Linked DNA regions of Homo sapiens: all the other regions are linked to region 3. Evidence: promoter capture Hi-C in human tissues and cell types (Jung and others, 2019). All regions are on one chromosome and are shown on one strand. Each heading gives the region's core, a stretch centred on a gene start or on the middle of the fragment in contact. The rest is flanking DNA. Distances are from core to core; before and after follow the strand shown. Region 1 overlaps CDC37L1 (cell division cycle 37 like 1, HSP90 cochaperone). Region 2 has its middle 25 kb from the start of SLC1A1. Region 3 holds the start of CD274 (CD274 molecule). Region 4 has its middle 50 kb from the start of JAK2.

Region 1 (3,048 bases), core at 411-2,910, 760 kb before region 3:
TATAAAGCATTGAAATCTGACTTTTTCCTCTACATTTGTATTTAGTTTATTAATTTAGTTAATTCACGTTTTATAAATATAAAATATTAATTTAAAAACAAAGGCTTTTATCTCTTAAATTTCACAACCGTTATATTCACAGTTATATGCATGTTTGACATCACTGGCTTTATGGTCATCAGAGCTGCTTTTTGAGTCATCTAATTTTCAGAGCACATCATCTTCACTTTCAGCCAAAGTTAGCTGTGATTCAGCTTTTTTTAATCTGTGTAGGATGTTGTCACTGGAAATTTTACCAAGAGCTATAAAAGTTTGCTCAAATACTATGATAGAAGTTTTTTCGTTTGTTCTGACTATGAATATTTACAACCTCTTCAATGTAATTGTTCATTGCTTTTAAAAAACATATCAATATCTTATTTTTGAAAAACATTTAATATAAAGCACTCTTACATATGAAGTGAAATGAATAGAAAATGTATATGATTTTAATGTTTTTTTTTTTTTTGAGACGAAATCTCGCTCTTGTCCCCCAGGCTGGAGTACAGTGGTGTGATCTCAGCTCACTGCAACCTCCGCCTCCCGGGTTCAAGCGTTCCTGCTGCCTCAGCCTCCCGAGTAGCTGGGATTACAGGCGCCTGCTACCACGCCTGGCTAATTTTTGTATTTTTAGTAGAGATGGGGTTTCACCATGTTGGCCAGGCTGGCCTTGAACTCCTGACCTCAAATGATCCGCCCGCCTCGGCCTCTCAAAGTGCTGGGATTACAGGCGTGAGCCACCACTCTGAGCCTTAATTTTGGTTTTTTAAAAAGTCATTCAAAAATATGCCTGGAAGGAAATACATCAAAATGTTAACAGTAATCTCTTGTGGTAGAATTACAGCTAACTTTTATTTTCCGGATTTTAAAAATTCTTCATAATAAATAAACTTTATTTTTATAATCTGAAAAAAATTTTTCAAAGCGTTTATCCTAAGAATCAAAATGGCTTAACATTAGAAAACTCATTAATGTGATTCACTGTATTAACTGATCATAGTAGTATAACCACAGGACTTGGTGGTCAATTTGATGTGGGAGAAATGGAAATGTCAGAGGAATTTCTAGAATGCTTGATTTGGTAACATGGAGCCTAGGAAACATTGTAGGATGGCAGAGAGACAAGTATGGGTTTGGTTTCAAGTAAGATGGGTTTACGTGCAGGCATATCAGTAGAAATGCATATGGTGGTAGACGATTGGAAATAGAGGAGATCTGGAGTTTAGGAATATGGGAAATGATCATACAACTTTCCTCAAGTAATTCACAAACTACCTGGGAGATTTTTAGTACACAGAGAAATTAAAATGAATTAGTGTAGTTTGTTAAAATATATCATTCTAAGCCTGGCATAGTGGTTCTGCCTGTAATCCCAGCACTTTGAGAAACTGAGGCTGGAGGATCACTTGAGCCCAGGGATTCAAGACCAGCCTGGGCAACACAGTGAAACCTCATCTCTACAAAAAAAAAAAAAAATTCGTCAGGTGTGGAGGCTTATACCTGTAGTCCCAGCTACTGCAGAGGCTGAGGTGGGAGGATCTCTTGAGCCCAGGAGGTTGAGGCTGCAATGAGTTGTGATTGCACCAGTGTACTCTAGCCTAGACAACAGAGGAATAACCTGTCTCTCAAGATAAAGAAATAAATTAATTAATAATAATAATAATTCTATAAGTGTAATGAAAGAGGAAAGGGAAATCAGTAATAAGGAAGGACGTGTATTTCAGGACCATTTTAGGAATCAGGTGGCATATTGAAGGTTGATGATGGATTGAGATTTAGACGTTCACTAGGGAAATATATAGGTTAAAGCATATGATTAAAATATCTAAACTTGTCAAAGTGAGGTTTTCCAAGCATTCAGAGAAATTGTTTGGCTAGTTTAAATGACTGTATTATCCTTAACCAAAGGATTAGCTAAATAAACATTTTGAATGGGTGCTTATCATTTATCGAGTATTTACTATGTCTCAGGCACTGTTCTAAGTGCTTTATATGAATTAATAGCATTTAATTGTCATGAAAATCCTGAGTTAGGTACTATTTTTAGCCCTATTTTACAGAGGAGGAAATGGAGGCATATAAAGGGAACTGCAGTAGTAAAATGGTGAAGCCAGTATTTGAACCTGGGCCATTTAGCTCTAGTCTGTCTTCTCAGCCGCTGTCTTAAATTGTTACTCTCCATTTGTATACAAGTTTGTTTACAAATTCCAAAATAATATCAGTAATTTGAGGTATATGCTGTTCCACTGAGTTGTTGATTCTCCTTATGTGTTTTATTTTTGAAACAGAGTCATTTTCTGTCACCCAGGCTGGATTACAGTCACAAGATCATAGCAACTGCAGCCTCAATTTCCTAAGCTCAAGCAATCCTCTTGCCCCAGCCTTCCAAGTAGCTGGGACTACAAGTGTACTCCGCCATGCCTGGCTAATTATCTCATTTTGTGTGGAGACACGGTCTCATTTTGTTGCCTAGACTGACCTAAAACTCCTGTGCTCAGGTGATTCTCCTGCCTTGGCCTCCCAAAATGCTGGGATTACAGGTGTGAGCTACTGCGCCCCACCTGTCTTTATTTTGTTCATAAAATTCCACACTCTTTCCACAAAGGTCTGTATCGACTACCTGTAACTGAACTTCTCAATTTCATACTAATTCAATGTGCATTTTTGAAATCAAGTGATAGTATTTCTCAGATTTAAAAAAAAAATGTATTTTCAATGTCAAGTGTTAATTCGTCTCAGGTATTAAATAGGTAGTTAAAAAATATTAACATTTGGCAGGGAGTGGTGGCTCACACCTGCAATCCCAGCACTTTGGGAGGCCGAGGCAGGTGGATCATGAGGTTAGGAGTTCGAGACCAGCCTGATCAACATGGTGAAACCTTGTCTCTACTAAAAATACAAAAATTAACTGGGCGTGGTGACACACGCCTGTAATCCCAGCTTCCAGGAGGCTGAGGCAGGAGAATTACTTGAACCCAGGAGGTGGAGGTTGCAGTGAGCTGAGATCGT
Region 2 (3,242 bases), core at 396-2,895, 990 kb before region 3:
TTTCTCCATTTTTCTGTTTCTTATATAAAATTTCCAAGTTTTTTCATGGTGACGTTCAGCACTAAGAGTGCAGGAGTGCAGGCAGTCATTGATAGAAAGCAGTCATTTGTACGTGTGGTATAGGTCAAGGACAGTTTCCATGAGTGAGAACTGAGTGAGAACTGAGGGAGGAAATACAAAAATACTTCGAAGAAAAAAAATTTGGAATGTCATAGATGCAAGTTGAAAGAAATCTTAGAGATGATGCAATCTAGTGGGTCCTAAAGTGTAGAACATGAGGAGCCTTTATGTGGTACACTGGCAAATCATTGAACAAAGTAGAATCACACAGGAAAAAATCACTCCCTTTTCATTTCTGTGTCAGGTTTTTTTTATTATATTAAGGAGAACAGCTCAGCTTATGTAGACTTTAAAACCTCTCTAACGTTGCTTATTTTAATAAAGAGAGCAGGCCTGGGGGTCAGAGTCTCCAACAGGCAATGGTCTCTTTGTAGCATTTAATAAAATTGTTTTAGTTTCACTGTTTTAATTTTTACCATGATTTTGACAAGCAGTATTGATTTCAATTTGTGATAGTAATATTTTCTTTTATTTATTTATTTTTTATAATTTTATTTTTTTAATTTTATTTATTTATTTTTTTGAGACAGAGTCTTGCTCTGTCACCCAGGCTGGAGTGCAGTGGCACAATCTCAGTTCACTGCAACCTCCACCTCCTGGGCTCAAGCGATTCTCCTGCTTCAGCCTCCCGAGCAGCTGGGATTACAAGTGCCCACCACAACACCAGCATAATTTTTGTATTTTTAGTAGAGGCGGGATTTCACCATGTTGGCCAGGCTGGTTTTGAACTCCTGACCTCAAGTGATCCACCTCCTTTGGCCTCCCAAAGTGCTGTGATTACAGGCATGAGCCACCATGCCTGGCCTGATATTTTCTTTGAAAAGGCATTAATTGAATAAAAAGAAAATAAGTTCAAAGAAAATCTTAGGCAAATAATATAAGTGGTATATAGAAGAAGAAAAAAATTGTAAAGGTTGTATGCAGAATATTGAAGCCAGGAAATGCTGATCTGAAGAGACTTCACATTTGAGTTTAAACCTGATGGAAAGACACATGTGAATATGAGAAGAAACCCCCCAAAATGGTATTAAGATAAAACACAAACCTGTCACTGGTAGCTAGTATAGTGTATTCCTCTAAGCAGACATATTTGCACAAGCTATAAATGGATGTGGCCAAGGGGTTAGCAATAACAAACTTCAGTGACACATTTCTTCAGAAACTCTGCTTTATATTTGCATACTTAACCTACAGCATTACCAGAATCAACATTTCCCTCTCTCTTCCTCTTACAAAATAGTCCTTGGGGACTGCCCATCAGTTACAGATGTTTCAGCACATTTTTCAGTTCATGACCAGAGAAAGGATAATCCTGTAAGAATGGAGGAAATTTACATATAACATTGCATACATTCTTAGTCTAAATAACGATAATAGGCCGGGCACGGTGGCTTATGCCTGTAATCCCGGCACTTTGGGAGGCCGAGGCAAGGGGATCACCAGAGGTCGGGAGTTCGAGACCAGCCTGGCCAACGTGGTGAAACCACATCTCTATTAAAAATACAAAAAATTAGCCATGCATGGTGACACGCAACTGTAGTCCCAGCTACTAGGGAGGCGGAGGCACAAGAATCTCTTGAACCCGGAAGACAGAGGCTGTAGTGAGCCAAGATCATGCCATTGCACTCCGGCCTGGGCGACAGAGTGAGACTCCGACTCAAAAAAATATAAAAAAGAAAAGATAATAAATAATAATTCTTGTAACTGGATTTATTTGTAAATCCAAGGATAAATGCTTGAGGGGATGGATACCCCATTCCCCATGATGTGCTTATTTCATATTGCATGCCTGTATCAAAACATCTTATGTATTCCACAAATATATACACCTACTATGCATCTACAAAAATTTTTTAAATTCAAAAAAATTTTCAAAAAAAATTATACCTCTTGGATTTCTGCCTCTGGCTCTAACTAAGTAACATGTGGTAGATTAGTGCTCCTGCTAAGAACAACTTGAAAAGCCAGAAAACATAATTTAAAAATCTATTTGAAAGCATTAAGTGCATTTGAAGTTGATAGAAAATTGCCAAGATTTGAGAGTAAAAGATCACAGAGATGAGACTACTTTAAAAATGTGGCCCACAAAACAGAAAAACAATACAGAAAATCAACGAATCCAAGAGCTGGTTCTTTGATAGAGGAAATGGTAAAATTCACAAACTTCTACCATACTGATTCAGAAAAATATGAAGAGAAGACACAAATTACCAATACCAAAAGTGAAAGAAAAGGCATCAGTGCAGATCTAAAGGACCTTAAAGATACAAGGGTATATAATGAACAACTTTATGCCAATAAATTTGACAACTTAGATGAAATAGACAATTCATTGTAAGACACAAATTACTGAAATTGACCTGAGAAGAAATAGAAAACTCGAACTGCCCAATACCAATAAAAGAAATTAAATTCATAGTTGACAGCTTTCCACAAAGAAACTCCAGGCCCAGATGGCTTCACTGATGAATTCTACCCAATATTTTAAGGTTATAATCCTACACACACTTTTTCAGAAAATAGAGAAGGAAGAAACATCAAATCATTTTATGAGGCCAGTATTACCCTTAATCCAAAACGAGACAAAGGCATCACAAGAAAGTAGGATAACAGAACATTAGCCCTCATAACATAGATATAAAATTTTTTTAAATGTTAGCAAATTTAATCTAACAATATATATAAAGGATAATACATCATAACCAATGGGATTTATACTGGAAATGCAGGTTGGTGTATCAGGCAAAACCCAATTAATAGAGAGAACTAGGTGGAGGTTCCAAGATGGCTGAATAGGAACAGCTCCAGAATACAGCTCCCAGCGTGAGCGACGCAGAAGATGGGTGATTTCTGCATTTCCAACTGAGGTACAGGGTTCATCTCACTAGGGCTTGTCAGACAGTGGGTGCAGCCCACGGAGTGTGAGCTGAAGCAGTGCAGGGCATCGCCTCATCCAGGAAGTGCAAGGGGGTCGGGGTATTCCCCTTCCTAGCCAAGGGAAGCCGTGACAGATGGTACCTGGAAAATTGGAACACTCCCATCCTAATACTGCGTTTTTCCAACAGTCTTAGCAAATGGCACACCAGAAGATTATATCCCGCACCTGGCTCGGCGGGTCCCAT
Region 3 (2,993 bases), core at 1-2,500:
CCTCAAAAGTGATTTGAAAGAAGGAACATCTGAGCTGGGCCCAAACCCTATTGCAATTTTATTGGGGCCAAAGAGAACTCCATGCTCCTGCCAAATCAAGGCAGTGTCAGCCTCAATAATTTCCCAGATAAAAATAAAAATCTGTGATACAATCAGAATGTGAAAATTCTTATTTTGGAAGCAAATGTCATAACCAATGCAAGGGCTATCTCAATATTCATTCATTATGCAGTATTTTGAACTGCAGTTGAAATGAATAAGAAGGAAAGGCAAACAACGAAGAGTCCAATTTCTCAATTTAGAAAAAGAGAAAAAAAAGAAAAGGGAGCACACAGGCACGGTGGCTCAAGCCTGTAATATCAGCACTTTGGCGGATCACTTGAGGTCAAGGAGTTCGAGAAAAGAGAGCACCTAGAAGTTCAGCGCGGGATAATACTTAAGTAAATTATGACACCATCGTCTGTCATCTTGGGCCCATTCACTAACCCAAAGCTTTCAAAAGGGCTTTCTTAACCCTCACCTAGAATAGGCTTCCGCAGCCTTAATCCTTAGGGTGGCAGAATATCAGGGACCCTGAGCATTCTTAAAAGATGTAGCTCGGGATGGGAAGTTCTTTTAATGACAAAGCAAATGAAGTTTCATTATGTCGAGGAACTTTGAGGAAGTCACAGAATCCACGATTTAAAAATATATTTCCTATTATACACCCATACACACACACACACACCTACTTTCTAGAATAAAAACCAAAGCCATATGGGTCTGCTGCTGACTTTTTATATGTTGTAGAGTTATATCAAGTTATGTCAAGATGTTCAGTCACCTTGAAGAGGCTTTTATCAGAAAGGGGGACGCCTTTCTGATAAAGGTTAAGGGGTAACCTTAAGCTCTTACCCCTCTGAAGGTAAAATCAAGGTGCGTTCAGATGTTGGCTTGTTGTAAATTTCTTTTTTTATTAATAACATACTAAATGTGGATTTGCTTTAATCTTCGAAACTCTTCCCGGTGAAAATCTCATTTACAAGAAAACTGGACTGACATGTTTCACTTTCTGTTTCATTTCTATACACAGCTTTATTCCTAGGACACCAACACTAGATACCTAAACTGAAAGCTTCCGCCGATTTCACCGAAGGTCAGGAAAGTCCAACGCCCGGCAAACTGGATTTGCTGCCTTGGGCAGAGGTGGGCGGGACCCCGCCTCCGGGCCTGGCGCAACGCTGAGCAGCTGGCGCGTCCCGCGCGGCCCCAGTTCTGCGCAGCTTCCCGAGGCTCCGCACCAGCCGCGCTTCTGTCCGCCTGCAGGTAGGGAGCGTTGTTCCTCCGCGGGTGCCCACGGCCCAGTATCTCTGGCTAGCTCGCTGGGCACTTTAGGACGGAGGGTCTCTACACCCTTTCTTTGGGATGGAGAGAGGAGAAGGGAAAGGGAACGCGATGGTCTAGGGGGCAGTAGAGCCAATTACCTGTTGGGGTTAATAAGAACAGGCAATGCATCTGGCCTTCCTCCAGGCGCGATTCAGTTTTGCTCTAAAAATAATTTATACCTCTAAAAATAAATAAGATAGGTAGTATAGGATAGGTAGTCATTCTTATGCGACTGTGTGTTCAGAATATAGCTCTGATGCTAGGCTGGAGGTCTGGACACGGGTCCAAGTCCACCGCCAGCTGCTTGCTAGTAACATGACTTGTGTAAGTTATCCCAGCTGCAGCATCTAAGTAAGTCTCTTCCTGCGCTAAGCAGGTCCAGGATCCCTGAACGGAATTTATTTGCTCTGTCCATTCTGAGAACCCAAAGGAGTCCTAAAAGAGGAATGGAGGAGCCTAAGAATAAAAATAGTATAATAAAACATTTCTTAGACACATTGACCTTGGCCTATGTCAAAGTTCAGTCTGGGTTTGTCTTATAACACAAGGAGTAAAAGTACCATTGTTCTACCTCTTTTTTTAATACTTGAAAAAAATTTACTGTGGATGCTTTTCTATGAATTAAATAACCTTCTAAAAAATGTTTTCATTGCTGCATTCGATTAGATTGGGTAACTAAATGAAATTAATTCCTCACTGTTGGGTATAAAGGTTATTTACAGTGGTTCTGTCTTAGCCATTCACTGAACTCATTGCATATATATCTCTGGAATATTGCTGATTGTTTCCTTCAAGTAAACTTAGAAGTGTAACTACTTAGTCAAAGAGCCTGAATATTTTAAAGGCCTTTTGAAGAAAACTGAAAATGCTTTCCAGAAAGGATGTATCAGTTGACAATGACAGTCGTCAACAGTATTTAAGGAGAACTATGATACTCTGAAGAAAAACTTAGCCTTTCTCAGTAAAAGTAGGTAGGCAGAGGCCACATGACAGCAGTTAGAGTGTGGTCTTCAAGGAAGTCACAGAAATACTGTGGGGAATTGAAACCCCATGTGGAAAATGTACAAGAGTGTCTCAGTGTGACTGAGAAGGAGGTTGGGCATGGGGTTTCATGGAGTTTAATAAAGTTTGGTCACTTAGTAGAGGTTTAATAAATCAACTGTCTTAATCTTTGATCCTACTTAAGAATTTTTTTTTTGTTTTTGTAGAGATGGGGCTCTTGTTATGTTGCCCAGGCTGTTCTCGAACTCCTAGCCTCAGGCGATCCTCCCTCCTCAGGCTCCAGAAGTCCTGGGATTACTGGCGGGAGCCACCATGCAGGCCTCTTGCTCCTACTTTTGAGAAAGGAAGTTTAACCGGTTTTTTTTGTCTTTTTTTTTTTTTTTTTGAGACAGAGTCTCACTCTGTTGCCCATGCTGGAGTGCAGTGGTGCAATCTCAGCTCACTGCCTCCCGGGTTCAAGTGATTCTCCTGCCTCAGCCTCCCGAGTAGCTGGGACTACAGGCACCTGCCACCACGCCCAGCTAATTTTTGTATTTTTAGTAGAAATGGGGTTTCACCATATTGGCCAGGCTGATCTCGAACTCCTGACCTCAGGTGATCCGCCTGCCTCGGCCTCCCAAAGTGCT
Region 4 (3,280 bases), core at 300-2,799, 510 kb before region 3:
CTTGCTATGTTGCCCAGGCTGGTCTTGAATTCCTGGCCTCAAGTACTCCTCTTGCCTTGCCCTTCCAAAGTGCTGGTATTATAGGCATGAGCCACCACTCCCGGCCAATGTATCTTGAATAGAATGTGACCCAGAGGTTGGCTTCTCCATACTCATCACTTACAGACTCAGGTTGATATGGAACATATTTTTCCATGGGGAAATACTGGTCAATCATGAAGCCTGACTTTCCCATCCAGTGTAAAGGCAAGTGTGTTCTTAAGTATGTATTGAAGAAACAATTAATGAAAGGGTCCAAATCTTCCTATGACAGGTAGGGTTGCCAAATAAATCACAGGATACCTAGTTAAACTTGAATTTCAGATAAACAATGAACACGCTTCAGATAAACAGCATTGATATTTGTGACATGCATTTAAAAGACTATTTATTGCTGGGCGTGGTGGCTCATGCCTGTAATCCCAGCACTTTGGAAGGCCAAGGCAGGCAGATCAAGAGGTCAGGAGATTGATACCATCCTGGCTAACACAGTGAAACCCTGTCTCTACTAAAAATACAAAAAATCAGCCAGGCATGGTGGTGCGTGCCTGTAGTCCCAGCTACTTGGGAGGCTGAGGCAGGAGAATTGCTTGAACACGGGAGGCGGAGGCTGCGGTGAGCCGAGATCATGCCATTGCACTCCAGCCTAAGCAACAAGAGCGAGACCCCATTTCAAAAAAAGAAAAAAAAAACTATTTATTGTTTATCGGAAATTCAAATTTAACTGGGCTTCCTGTTTGTTTTTGTCATTGTTTTCTAAATGTGGCAACCCTAATAAGAGAAGATTTTTCAAAGAGAGAGCTATTCCTCAGGGATGTTATAAAAAGGTCTAAGACATGTGGGATGGTCTGTATCTGAGGTATTTCAGCTGCCTTCTGCAGGTGGGGGAATTTATTCCCGCTTAATTATGTATTTTGCATGTCTTAAAATTCATTTGGTGCTTAATCTCATACTCGAAATAACTGCAACTGCTACTGCTCTGCTAGGGCTGTTACTGGCTACTCTATCAAACAGTGCACTCCATTTGGGTAATCTGAGCAGAGTTTAACAGAAGGACAATTTACAGTGGTTCAGCGAGCATGTAAGGAACTGCCAGGGAGAGCACAATGACCCACAGCAAGGTACCATTACCTCATCTAGGCTTGAAGGCTGTGTGGGAAGGGACACTTTGCAGGCCTTGTGTCCAACTGTCAAGAAACCTTGACAGCCCCATGGCAACCCTCCAGGGAGGGAGCTGGAGAATACACGCCTCACTTTCCCCTTCTTTCCTTCCCCCATGCTCCTACTGGGCCTCTCAGGCAAGCAAACCCAGGCAGAAGCCATATAGGCTAGCCTCCCAGGGCAAGGGAGCCTGGAGAAGGACAGAGAGCATGTGGAGAAGCCAATGGATGAATCAAGTCTGAATATGTGCTCTGTGCTTCCAGCACCATTAAGCATTTCACATAATCACCTCATTTGAACCTCATGACTGTCCTACGAGGAATGCACCATTATTGTTCCCTTTTACAGATGTGGTAAAGGATTAGTGATCTTGAATAATTTGTTCAAGGTCACAGAATCCCAATACACTCACCCCCCATCACTGTATAATACTTCCTGCTGACATCTTTAATTATCCTTATTTATTTATTTTTTTAAATTCATGGTGTTTTAACAGTTTCGTTTTTCTTGTCATGTTGCCAACTATTAAAACTTTGCCCAGACCTAGTTTAGCAGCCAGTAAACAAAATATGCTCACTCGGTGTTTGTTAATTTTTGTTTTTGTTTTTATTGTTTAATGTTTGTTAGTTTTTGTTTGATTTCTGACTTGGGAGAGCAGCAGCAGCAGGAAGTCCAGATTTAGGAGTTGGGTCATTCAGTTGTTTCCTTACAGAAAAGCGGCTAGAGGAAGGCACCCAGCTCAGAATATACCTGGCACAAGGAAAGGCTCATTAAGCCAAGGTTCGAAGAAACCCCAAAAAAGCAATTTTACAGAATCTTAGACTCGGAAGGGACTTTAGACATCACCTACAACCTCTACCCTATGTGTGATTCCTCTCCACAATTCAGTCCCTGTTCTTGTCCCTAGGGTTACCTCTTCTAAATAAACATCAAGAGAGTGTCTGGCCAAGAGATTCGTGGAGGGGTCCACAATTCCCTCGCATGATTCTTTTTGTGACCTAAGAATTCCATTTCACTTCTGAACTTTGATATGCCTTGGTTTTCCCACTCATAACATGGAGGTAGGTAATGTAAAATATATCAGTCTCCATTATCTCCTTAAACAGTTATAGTGCTTCCTGAAGAAAGTGCCAAGCTGTGCTGTTAGAAAGAGTAGGAGCAAACTAGGAAGCTGGCACCAATTGTACAGTTAGGTTTCTGACATGTAAAAATCAGGAGAAGGGAAATGTGGGTTGGAAGCTTTAATTGTGAGCGGAGAATGAAAGCTGATTCAGTTAGTGTGTAATGTAATTTGGAAAGTGGAAATAATGAAAGGGAAACAGTTTTTATTTCTGGGAAATGAAACAGAAAGAAATACAAGTAACGAGAACAACAGCAACAGCAACGACAAAGCCAAGCCCATTACCCACAAAAGCTACAATTTTTTCTTGTATTTGGGTCTTTGAATTGCTACTCTCCCCAGAAAAAAAATAGTTTTTAATTGAGTTTGCAGTTCCCTTTGAATTTCATAAGTGATTTACACTATTAAGTTTACTTTAATTTTAATTAAATATATAATATATATTTAGTTAATATGTAATATATATTTAAACACACACATATCTTTCTTCCAACATTCACATTAGGATTTTTTAATGGTCAAAGAAGATATTTCTGAGTTCAAAACTCAGTTTTAAAGTAGAGTTTGGTAAAGTAGGGACATTTTGCTTTTTGGACATGGCTTTCTCCCTCAGCCTATTTTTGGAGCATGAGATCTTGTGGGCCTAAGTTCTGCATTCACCACATCTCTCCTGAAACCCCTGACTTCCCCTCTGCTACCATCACCCAGGGATCCCCCTTCCCACTCCTGTAACACTTTATGTCTGCTGCTCTACAGTACTTACCACACATCTCCCTCCCACCTGTATCAGATGGTCCTATGGGTAGAAAAATGTCTTATATCTTAGTAGTCCAATGTACCTGGGATGTAGTAAATGTCAGAGTCCGAAACTGTCTTATTTTCCAGATTTGGGCTTTGTAATAAAGGCCTTTTGAAGATAATGCCTAGGTCTTTGATATGTAATTTTAGGTAAAAAGAAAA

Evidence for each region. The method cuts DNA at HindIII sites, captures the fragments that hold promoters and counts their contacts. A contact is called where the count stands out against the background at its distance.
Region 1: a fragment that was not itself captured here is called in contact with the fragment with the promoter of CD274 in region 3 in 1 of the 25 tissues and cell types used here (spleen).
Region 2: a contact is called between a fragment that was not itself captured here and the fragment with the promoter of CD274 in region 3, in 1 of the 25 tissues and cell types used here (lymphoblastoid cells).
Region 4: a contact is called between a fragment that was not itself captured here and the fragment with the promoter of CD274 in region 3, in 1 of the 25 tissues and cell types used here (lymphoblastoid cells).

Annotation. Positions count from the first base shown.
Region 1 is chr9:4,691,779-4,694,826 of GRCh38, forward strand. The region is part of intron 3 of CDC37L1 (cell division cycle 37 like 1, HSP90 cochaperone); the gene reads left to right. Among named protein-coding and RNA genes, the nearest start is that of CDC37L1, 14 kb to the left of the region's middle. The HindIII fragment of the contact is 4,245 bases long and covers 1-3,048 here.
Region 2 is chr9:4,463,770-4,467,011 of GRCh38, forward strand. It overlaps a transcript of GLIS3 not described here. Among named protein-coding and RNA genes, the nearest start is that of SLC1A1, 25 kb to the right of the region's middle. RefSeq lists enhancers at 1,365-1,414, 1,425-1,474, 2,260-2,329. The HindIII fragment of the contact is 6,998 bases long and covers 1-3,242 here.
Region 3 is chr9:5,449,292-5,452,284 of GRCh38, forward strand. CD274 (CD274 molecule) reads left to right here and starts at 1,251. Exons shown (of 7, transcript NM_014143.4): 1 at 1,251-1,305. RefSeq lists enhancers at 1,028-1,077, 1,368-1,527. The HindIII fragment of the contact is 6,419 bases long and covers 804-2,993 here.
Region 4 is chr9:4,934,017-4,937,296 of GRCh38, forward strand. No RefSeq gene overlaps it. Among named protein-coding and RNA genes, the nearest start is that of JAK2, 50 kb to the right of the region's middle. The HindIII fragment of the contact is 7,942 bases long and covers 1-3,280 here.